Linked DNA regions of Homo sapiens: region 2 is linked to region 1. The links are contacts of gene promoters, found by promoter capture Hi-C in blood cells and fetal thymus (Javierre and others, 2016). All regions are on one chromosome and are shown on one strand. Each heading gives the region's core, a stretch centred on a gene start or on the middle of the fragment in contact. The rest is flanking DNA. Distances are from core to core; before and after follow the strand shown.

Region 1 (5,465 bases), core at 1-2,500:
AAAAAAAAAAAAAAAGGCACATAATGATCATCTTCATGCATTCAGGTAAGATACTGTGTGCACATTCACAAAATAAAAATAGACTAAAGGATGGTTTATGGAATACTATGCAGTTGCAAAGAAAGCACAAATTTATATTTTTAAAAGATAAAGATATAAGAAAAAAATTCATAACTGTACATATAATCCTATTTATGTAAAAAATATATATATATATATGGTTGTCTGAAGATATTTTGGGACTCCAAACACCTTCACAATGACCACTGAAGACCCCATTCCACAATGGACTCCACCTAAATGCTGAGTTGGAGTTATAATAAGATTTGGTTACCAAGGCATTTATTTAAGTGAGTATTAACTTTGCTCTTGCCCTTGAAAAGCTCCTAATTCTAGTTATCTTTATCCAAGCGTAAGAGATTAAAGACCCGCCTGAAGATACAGATGCAAACTGACCGTAAGACAATCAGCGAGTCTCACACAGCTCGGCTTTGTATTTTCAGACAACCCTTTAATTACAAACGCCTCTGGGCCAATGGTCTGAAAATGGTTGGGACTGAGGTGCTGGGGATACAATGATGAACTGCAGCCGCTGAAGCCCTGTCAGGTGGAGACCCGGTTACCTCAGACCCTCACTGAGCCTTTTCTTTTTTCTTTTCTTTCTTCCTGTTTTTCTTTTGAGACGCAGTCTCCCAGGCTGCAGTGCAGTGGCTCACTGCAACCTCGGCTTCCCGGGTTCAAGCGATTCTCCTGCCTCAGCCTCCCGAGTACCTGGGATTACAGGCGGCGCCACCACGCCAGGCTAATTTTTGTATTTTTGGTAGAGACGAGGTTTCACCATGTTGGCCAAGCTGGTCTCGACCTCCTGACCTCAGGTGATCCGCAAGCCTCGGCCTCCCAAAGTGCTGGAATTACAGGCGTGAGCCACCGCGCCCGTCTACTGCGCGTTTTCTAAACCTTGGCTCCTACGCATTTATCAGAAGAGAGAGCGCAATCTGTCTATGACTTCCAGCCAATAGCTACACTTCTTTTCTCAGCCCTCGTCCACTGTTCTTTTTTAACCAATCAGAAACGTTTTTCAAACGTTTGCCCTCCCCGCTAAGTGCGCAGGCTCCTGGAAAGTTGTCTTCACTTCCGGGCCGCGGTCTAGGGCGGCTACGTGTGTTGCCATAGCGACCATTTTGCATTAACTGGTTGGTAGCTTCTATCCTGGGGGCTGAGCGACTGCGGGCCAGCTCTTCCCCTACTCCCTCTCGGCTCCTTGTGGCCCAAAGGCCTAACCGGGGTCCGGCGGTCTGGCCTAGGGATCTTCCCCGTTGCCCCTTTGGGGCGGGATGGCTGCGGAAGAAGAAGACGAGGTGGAGTGGGTAGTGGAGAGCATCGCGGGGTTCCTGCGAGGCCCAGACTGGTCCATCCCCATCTTGGACTTTGTGGAACAGAAATGTGAAGGTAAAAACCAGAGCCCGAACCGACAATCCTTTTCTCCTCTCTCACACCAGCGGCGGGCAGGGGGTTGGTAACCACAAGCCATCTCTCGTCTCCCCGACCCCCTGTCTCCACCCCTGTCGCAAGGTCTCGTTCCCCTCACCACCTTCTCCACCCGCGTCATCAGGTTTAGAGCTGGTTGTGTGGGAGGAATTCCTTTCACCCTGCCAATGTGTTCCTTCGCAGACCTGAAAACGGGGACCGAGACTCCCCTTCTCTGGGGCCGAAGCGCACGTCCGAAGAACATTAGACTTGAATCGTAAATTCGGTCTCTCACCCTGTCCCGAACGTTTCTGCCCTCGGCAGGTGGACTGTTTGGCTGGGCTTCTTCAACAGCTTTGCCAGACTTGAGAGGAGAAGCGTCGGTTTACCTGAGTTCCTTATGATCCCTAGCATTTCGCCCGGTGTAGTCAGCTTAGGAAATGAGAAATGATTTCACTCCAAACCAACAGTTAACTGCAAAGGAGGGCATGTGATAACTCCAGGAAGCCCAGAGCCGGTGATTTTGGTGGCCTGTGTTCCCCTTGGTGAGCTCTCTACTCTTCGCTATACCAAAAATTGGCGAGGTGGGGCAGGACCATTCTTGGAACAAATGAGGCGTATAGATATGGCATAATATTCCCCGTGAAGGACAGGCATCTCCGGGTTCTGAGCAGTTCTTCAGGCTTGGAGTTCTGCATTCAGTTCGTGGAGACTATTTGCAGCCCATTCGCAGAAAAGGAACCAGAAACCACGTCATATAAATGAGTGCCCAAGCGTTATTGTGGTTGTTTAATCGGGCAAGACTTTGAGGGTAGTAGTATTCATCAATTATTTGAACATCTGCTTTGTGTTGTAAGGTTGAGTAGAATAGAGCTAGGGTCAGTTGGTACAAGCTACAGGGAAACAAATTTCAGTGAAGGAAGTGTTTCATGATAGAATGTATCCAAGATGAGTTAGCCAGCCTCAGAAGGTAATGAGCTTCCCGGCTCCAGCAGTGTTTGAATGGATCTGATAGCGACTTAATAGGGTTAGAGGGATTCAGCTATTCAGCTATCAAATGGTCGGTTATCCTGGATGACCTTTTAAGACTTCTTTAAATTCCAAGATATCATGAATCTGGTAAAGATGAAATTCAGTTTGACCACTGAATCTTTTCATTACATTTTCATTGCTATAATCAATATTCAAATCGTAGTTATTAAAGTGTTATTTTTACAGGTAATTTTTTAACAATGTTCAAAAACAAAATAACTTGTATTTGTACTCCTTTTTTTTTTTTTTTTTTGGGAGACAGAGTGTCGCTCTGTTGCCCAGGCTGGAGTGCAGTGGCGTGATCTTGGCTCACTGCATTGTTTTATACATATGATCATTCAGTAAACACTTGTTTTGATTTTATTTAACTTCATTATTTATCTGTGGTAACAAAAATTGCCTGGTCACTTTCAGTAACATTTACATCAGCAAAATTCCAGTACAATAAAATAATATGGAACCTATTGTAAAAGGATTTAACCATTAACAATAATATTACATTAAAAGTTATGAAGAAATTATTGCCTCATATTGATTGAAATGTGTTTTTGTCTTAAATATGAGGTAGTATTCATTTTAAATATTTTCTCAAGTAGGCAAAAAAGCTTGTTTACAATTAATAGTATATATGTGTGTGTGTGTGTGTGTGTGTGTGTATATTTTTTTTTCTTTTTTTTTTTTGAGATGGAGTCTCACTCTGCCGCCCAGGCTGGAGTGCAGTGGTGCAATCTTGGCTCACTGCAACCTCCGCCTCCTGGGTTCAAGCAATTCTCTTGCCTCAGCCTCCCGAGTAGCTGGGTCTACAGGCGCGCACAACCACGCCTGGCTGATTTTTGTATTTTTAGTAGAGATGGGATTTCACCACATCAGCCAGGCTGGTCTCGAACTCCTGATCGTAGGTGATCCACCCACCTTGGCCTCCGAAAGTGCTGGGATTACAGGCATGAGCCACAGTGCTCGGCCAATAGTATATATTTTTAGATATATTCATTTATATATTTTTAAAAGATAAACCCTAAGAATTCAAAGCTGAAGAGCTAGGTTGACAGTTCTATTTGGAAGGAGTGGATTTTTAAATTTGCATTAATAAAATGATTTGGTTTTTACACTATGTAATATTTTCTTTTAAATTTAGTTTTTGATGATGAAGAAGAAAGCAAATTGACCTATACAGAGATTCATCAGGAATACAAAGAACTAGTGAGTATTTTTTTTCACTGATTTTTAAAAGTAATTAGGCTAATACTACTTATAGCTTTTCTAAATGAAGAAAAATATTTTTACATTAAAAATCCTTAATTTTACAAAAATCCAATCTACCTTAACAATAGTGCCAGTTATATCTGTCTCCACAGGTGCTCTGAATATCTCATTTGGATGACTTATCTCCTCTACTCTAAGGAATGGTTTTACAACTCTTTATGGGTTCTTGCATGTATTCTTTATATCTTATTCTTATTTTGTTGACGCATCCAGGGACATATTAATTATTCACTTCGTCATGGTTGTCATGTGATTTTTTTATTTTTTATTTTTGAGACAGGGTCTTGCTCTGTCACCCAGGCTGGAGTGCAGTGGCACTATCACAGCCTATTGCAGCCTCAACCTCCCCAGGCTCAAGCGATCCTCCCATCTCAGCCACCTGAGTAGCTGGGACTACAGGTGTGCACCACCATGCCCTGCTAATTTTTTTGTATTTTGTAGAGATGGCGTTTCTCTGTGTTTCCCAGGCTGGTGTGGAACTCCAGAGCTCAAGTGATCCACCTGCCTGGGCCTCCCAAAGTGTTGGGTTTACAGGTGTGAGCCACTGCCCAGCCTGTCTTGTGATTTTAAAAAATGCCTCTGGCAGTGGGGCTCAGTGGCTCACACCTATAATCCCAGCACTTTGGAGGCCAAGGCAGGTGGATTGCTTCAGCCAAGGAGTTCGAGACCAGCCTGGGCAACATGGTGAAACTCCATCTTTATAAAAATTACAAAAATTAATCAGTCATGATGGCATGTGCCTGTAGTCCCAGTTGCTTGGGAGGCTGAAGTGGGAGGATGATCTCTTGAGCCCAGAAGGTCAAGGCTGCAGTGAGCCATTACTGTGCCACTGTACTCCAGTCTGGACAACAGAGTAAGACTCTGTCTCAAAAAAAAAAAAAAGAAAGAAAGAAAGAAAAGGCCAGGCGTGGTGGCTCATGCCTATAATCCCAGCACTTTGGGAGGCCAGGGCAGGCGGATCACCTGAGGTCAGGAATTCGAGACCAGCCTGACCAACATGGTGCAACGCCATCTCTACCAAAAAAAAAAAAAAAAATTAGTCGGGCATTGTGGCAGGCGCCTCTAGTCCCAGCTACTCAGGAAGCTGAGGCAGGAGAATTGCTTGAGCCTGGGAGGCAGAGGTTGCAGTGAGCCGAGATCGTACCACTGCACTCCAGCCTGGGTGACAGAGTGAGACTCCATCTCAAAAAAGAAAGAAAAGAAAAGAAGAAAAAAAAATGCCTCTGGGTAGCAGAAGAGTTGTACCACATTGAACTTCATAATCCTGACTTCAACTATTTCTATTAGAAGAAATACAATTTCATGTGATTTTCAGCAAAAATATTAACTTTTAATTTGTGTTTTGGTGAAAGACAATGTCACTGTCATGTAATATGTAGATTAATATTTGCAAAAAATTCGATGATACTTTTCTAAACTAAATACTTAATATGCAAACTGTCATGTAGAATTTTTCTATGTAATTATAAAAGTTAAACTTTGTTTTTTTAGGTTGAAAAGCTGTTAGAAGGTTACCTCAAAGAAATTGGAATTAATGAAGATCAATTTCAAGAAGCATGCACTTCTCCTCTTGCAAAGACCCATACATCACAGGTTTTTGCTTTGTGTTATTCTGCTAACATACAGTTTTAACAAATGCCCAGGGTTAAACACTCACTTAAATTTGAATGTTTGATTGACAAAGTGTAATATTTTAGACATTG
Region 2 (5,465 bases), core at 882-3,381, 930 kb before region 1:
ATCACAAATTTGAATTCTCTCTCAATACCTCTGCTTTATCCAAGGCTCCTACAACAAAAGCCTACCTTTAGCCCTTGAAAATGAAGTAGAGGATTTTATCTTTACTGGTGAATTTGTGTGCCACATGGTAGACTAGTATAGAATGTAATATTTACTGCTTCTTTAATGTTCCTTAGGAAGAATATCACACAGACATCTCCCTTCTCCATATGTTGCAATTATACTACTTTCATGAAGTCTTGAGTGTGCCTGTTACGGTTGGTGCGCTTTAAAACATTCTTTTCTACTTAGTCTGTATTCGTGTTAACGTTCTGCCATTCTGTGTTAAGTTCTGCCGTTCTGTGTTGTTTAGTAATTAAGTGTATGGTATCTATTTAGTTCTAAGTTTTTCCTAACTTTTAAGGGCATTGCAAGTTACCCTCAGCCCACCTTGGATTGAAGTCCCCTTCCATGGAGGACTGGAGGAGAAGAGGTGATGGTGTATGAAGTGTCCATCAAAATAAGAGCTGAAGAGCCTTCAGCTTGTGGGGAGGGCTGGAAAGTTGGAAGATCAGGCCTCAAGCTGTTCCACCCTTCTCATCCTTTGAAGGTGAGGGTGCAGCCTTGAGGTCTAGCCTGTGGTGATTACCATAGTTTGTCCCTCCTGCCAAATGGGGTGGCACACTCCATCCCGTAAGTGAAGGTAACCAGATAAATACCCACTCCGCTGGGGAGTGGAAGGGGCCCCGAGTTCACCCTGTGACTGACCTGACATGTGGATATCACTTACCAGAAAATGCTTGTGGCTACTGAGCATTAACCTGGCAACATATTCAATAGCAAAATTTAAAATAGTACCCAGTGTGGTGCCTTGCTCATAGCAAGCACTTAGTACCTATTTGCTAAGCTGATTTTAATTTGAAGTGGAGTCTAACAAATGGGATGTGGGATCAACAGTATTATTATATTGAAATGTTTTAAACCAGGACATGCCAAACTTTTTCTATAAAGGACCAGATAATAACTGTTAGGCTTTGTGGGCCACATGGAGTCTCTATGGGGTATCATCAGCCTCCTCCCCTTCCTCTTCCTCCTCCTTTTAACCACCCTCTTAAAATGTAAAACCTGTGTGTCTCCCAGGCTACATAAAAAGAGGCTACTGGCTGAAGTTTGCTGACTCCTATTTTATATTAATCTTTTAACTCAGTCTGAAGGAACTGACCAGACATGGATGGTTATGAGTTTTTTCTTCTTGTTTTGGGGAGGTGATGTCTTGTTTTCCTCAGGCAGTGTGGGATGGTGGTTGGAACTAAATAGATACCATCCCACACTCCCTGTGTGGGATGGAGTGCCTCAGGTGCTTTGGGATTCTGTAGGGTTCAGATAAATGTGGGCTCTAATTCTGGGTGTTTATTTGCTAGCAGCATGCCCTCGGGGGGATCCCAAAACCAGTCTGTGCCTCAGCCACCTCAGTTAGTTAGAAATCACAGGCTGTAATGAAGGAGGGAAAGTGAGTGAAGATCCTAATGCAGCATCACTAGTGCACACCTGGGCTTACTTCAGCCTTTGCCCTAACTGATCAGTCACCCTGACTGCAGTTCCCATCCTGTAGAGATGGAGAGTAGCAGGTTAATGGGCTCAGGATATGACTTCCTGTATGTGAAAGCAGTTTGGAAGCATGCTACCCATTTTTAGTCAAACACAGTGAACAGTTACTGAGAATTTTATCACAAGGTCCTAATTCTGTTTTTTTACATTTGCTTTTTCCACCTGGTTTTGGCACCTTACACTATTGGTTTTTTTTGTTTTGTTTTTTAAAAAATATTTTTAACTTTTGTGGATACATAGTAGATGTATATATTTATGGGGTATGTGATGTTTTAATATAGGTATGTGATGCTTAATAATCACATCGTGGAGAATGGGATATCCATCCCCTCAAGCATTTATCTTTTGTGTTACAAACAATCCAATTATACTCTTAGTTATCTTTAAATGTACAATTAACTTATTATTGATTAATTCACACTGGTTCCCACCTTAGCTCTCATCTTAGAAGAGGTAGTTGTGTTGCTTTGCCTCTTATTTTCGGAGAAAGCCCCCATCATAACCTCAGCTCCCTCCAGAGTCTTGGCTTCTTATGGATTGTGACTTTATGCGGCTCACCTTGACGTACGACTGTGACAGAGGCAGGACCCTGGTGACAGAGCCTCATTTCTCAGTTATTGTGGGTCTCCTCTCAGAAGTTGTGCCTGCAGTGCCTTGGTCTCCACATTGGCAAACTGGGGTTGTGCCGCTCAGAAGAAAGGCCCTCTGGAAGCTGCAGGAGGGACTGCCCAGCAGATGCAACCTGTAGGTGCCAGGTCATAGAGAGCTCATGGTGGGTTTTGTAGTCGGCCCATCAGACAGTTACTAGCAGACAATTGCATATTTGCTTCACATGCATTTAGAGCAAATATTTACATGTGTTTTGTCCATGATGCAAGTTAAACAGTTAAGGAAACTATTGTAACTCAAATTCTATTTTTATACAAATCAGCAAACATGAATTTAAGGCCTTCAGACTAGTCCGTCACAGGGAGGACTTCAGTCAAAAGATTAGTTTCCTTCCTGTTGCTGCCTCAAGATAACAGTTGGATTCTCTGTTATCAATACAGCCAGCTGCCTGTTTCCGGCTTCCTGCTCTGTGTATTTTGCATGTTACTCATGGGAAATGATTTATTTATTTTTTCAAGCTAAGGCATATAGGGGGACTCCACCCTACCACTATTCTTTTGTTTTGAGTTAAGATCCTTTTTTATTCTTTATTTTAAAACAGTTCAAGAATTAAACTTTAATATATAAATTGTTAAAGTTGCAACAAATTAAGTCTTGTGACAATTGACCTGATTGGGTCATGTTTAAATAATGTTGTAATATGTTACAATGATGTCCTAATCACACCGTTGTGTATTTTGCAACTTCACTTTACCGTACAGGTATGTGGTGGCAATTGCCCAAAGATAAAACAAGCAAACAAAAAACAGAATTTGTCAAACATTTTAGTTTGGCTCTGGACCCATTTTAGTCTGAATGACAGCACCACAAAATTGCATTTTTATCCGTATTTCAGACATTGAGGAATTGCAAGAAGCAGTTCACCTGTCATATATTTTTAGTGCTATACAATGACAACATTTAACTGCCTAGGGCCTGTCTTTGTGATATGAAATTTCCCTCCTCAACAATTTCAGTGAGACCACCACCAACAATAAGATTTATCGAGAACCTAGTTGTTGGACACTGGAGGTTTGCTGACTCATTGAACAAATGTTTATTGTGCACCTCCTTTATGTCATGTATATGCTAAAGCTCTAAACATGAATAGGATTGAGCCTTTGCCTCTGAGCCAACTGCAAGTTAATTGAAGAGATAGGACACAAGACGTATAATAAAAGATGAGAGACCACATCCCATCAAATGATGATTGCTGACATCTGATAGGAGAGGGCCTCTTGGTAGAACTAATCTTGGCTGGATCTTAAAGGAAGGGTAAGAGAAAACTGCCTTCTAGGTTAGAAGAATGATAGAAGCAAAGATGGGAAAAAGCAGTGTGCAAGGTGAGAGTTCAGAGCATGAGAGTAAGACCTGTTAGGTTGGAACAAAAGACGGCATGTCAGGGAAGTTCCCAGATGAAGCTGATGCCTTAGGAGAGCCCGTTTGGGACCTTTAAATGCCAGGTTCAGAGATTTGGACTGTCTTCTGGATAGCTGGGGTCCGTTGAAGGTTTTGGTGCAGTGCTGCAACTTTGAAAAACCACTGATTGAGGAACATGGCTATGGTAGTGATGTTTAAGGTGGATTAGAATGCGGAGAGAGGCCCAAGGCAGGGGAGTTCAGTTGGGGTCTGAAACCACCCAAATTGTGGTGAGCTTTGTTCAAAACACGCAAAAATAGATTGTCAAAATTATTCTCTTAGCAACTGATCTTGTACTTCTTTGTAATGTCTTTTTGTTATTTTTTAACTTTTTATTTTGTATCCCCAGCTAGATTTCTAGTTCATTGAGGGTAAGAGACTTTATCTTAGACACAGAGTTCTAGGTAAAGTATGCACTTTGTAATATTGGAGCTCACTAATACTCTCAATTTCAGATTAGTCAGCTAACACAGTATTATTGATTTAAATAGTGGGGATATGTTCATGGGATGATTGCTTCCTCCCCTTTTGATTTCTTCTTAACTTCCATCCCTGTAATTCCTTTCTTTCTTACTTTGAACCCAAGACTACACCTAACTTAACTATATGTCTGTGCAAAGCAAAAACTACATGATTGCTGTCTCTTACTTAGGGGGTAGGCCATTATCTTAGCACAATTGAAGAGCCTGATAGAAAATATTACTGGGTTATACGTGCAGGTTCAGACTACTTGAAAAGTAAAAGAAAGATTCCTTCTCTTAAGCCAGGTATAAATTCAGTCTTTAGGGGAACAATGAATAGGGTCTTTTGACAGTTCCTGATTCTATGTTTCCTTTTTTTTCCATCCGGAGATGTTCCATGCCTTCAGGCTTTCCTTCATTCCTGGCTCCCATCCCTTTCCATAACCAGAACTGTGGCATATGGTGAATATAGTTGTGTTTAGCACTCTGTGCTGAGGGTATTGCAGAAAGATGCCGTACAATCATTTCCATCATGCAGTGCCCTTCTGCTCATCAAAGCTATTTCTGTATCCTAACTTGACTCACGCTAACACAGTGTTCATTTTTTCAGTTATAGCAAATTCTCTAGAGTAAATAAATATGGGGCTGGGTGCAGTGGCCCACACCTGTAATTCACTTTGGGAGGCTAAGGTGGGAGGATCACTGGAGACCAGGAGTTTGAGGTCAGCCTGGGCAATCTAATGAGACCCTATTTCTACAAAAAAAAATGAAAAAGCCAGGTGTGATGGTGCATGCCTGTAATCCTAGTTACTCTGGAGGTTGAGGTGGGAAGATTGCTTCAGCCCAGGAGTCCAAAATTACAGTGAGCTGTGATCACACCACTACACTCTAGCTGGGGTGACAGACTCCTTCTCTAATATATTCATTGGTTAATTAATTTAAAAATATAAATTAAAAAATTACATAGACGCATTACAGCCTTTCAGTATTTATCACAGTCATTCCCTAAAAAGAAAAGAAGTAGATGTTATGCTTCTAGAAGAGGATGATGGTGGAGAGGATATTCACAGCCCTTTTTTTTAACCATTAAGCAAATGTGTTTCTCAGTTCTAAATATTTCATACTTTTTTTTTTCTTTTTTCTTTTTTTTTATCTGAGACAGAGTTTTGCTCCTGTTGCCCAGGCTGGAGTGCAAAGGCACCACCTTGGCTCACCGCAACCTCTGCCTCCCGGGTTCAAACGATTCTCCTGCCTCAGCCTCCCGAGTAGCTGGGATTACAGACATGCGCCACCACGCCTGGCTAATTTTGTGTTTTTAGTAGAGATGGGGGTTTCTCCATGTTAGTCAGA

Evidence for each region. The method cuts DNA at HindIII sites, captures the fragments that hold promoters and counts their contacts. A CHiCAGO score of 5 or more calls a contact.
Region 2: a contact is called between a fragment that was not itself captured here and the fragment with the promoter of CFAP36 in region 1, in 1 of 17 cell types (neutrophils). The highest score is 5.2, in neutrophils.

What each region holds. Positions count from the first base shown.
Region 1 is chr2:55,518,468-55,523,932 of GRCh38, forward strand. It overlaps CFAP36 (cilia and flagella associated protein 36), which reads left to right and starts at 1,251. Exons shown (of 10, transcript NM_080667.7): 1 at 1,251-1,449; 2 at 3,635-3,699; 3 at 5,254-5,355. The coding sequence starts at 1,335. RefSeq lists enhancers at 552-601, 1,782-2,031. The HindIII fragment of the contact is 7,670 bases long and covers 1-3,102 here.
Region 2 is chr2:54,587,132-54,592,596 of GRCh38, forward strand. The region is part of intron 2 of SPTBN1 (spectrin beta, non-erythrocytic 1); the gene reads left to right. LOC124906008 (a long non-coding RNA gene) reads right to left here and starts at 2,303. Exons shown (of 3, transcript XR_007086322.1): 1 at 1-2,303. RefSeq lists an enhancer at 2,484-2,533. The HindIII fragment of the contact is 8,072 bases long and covers 1-5,465 here.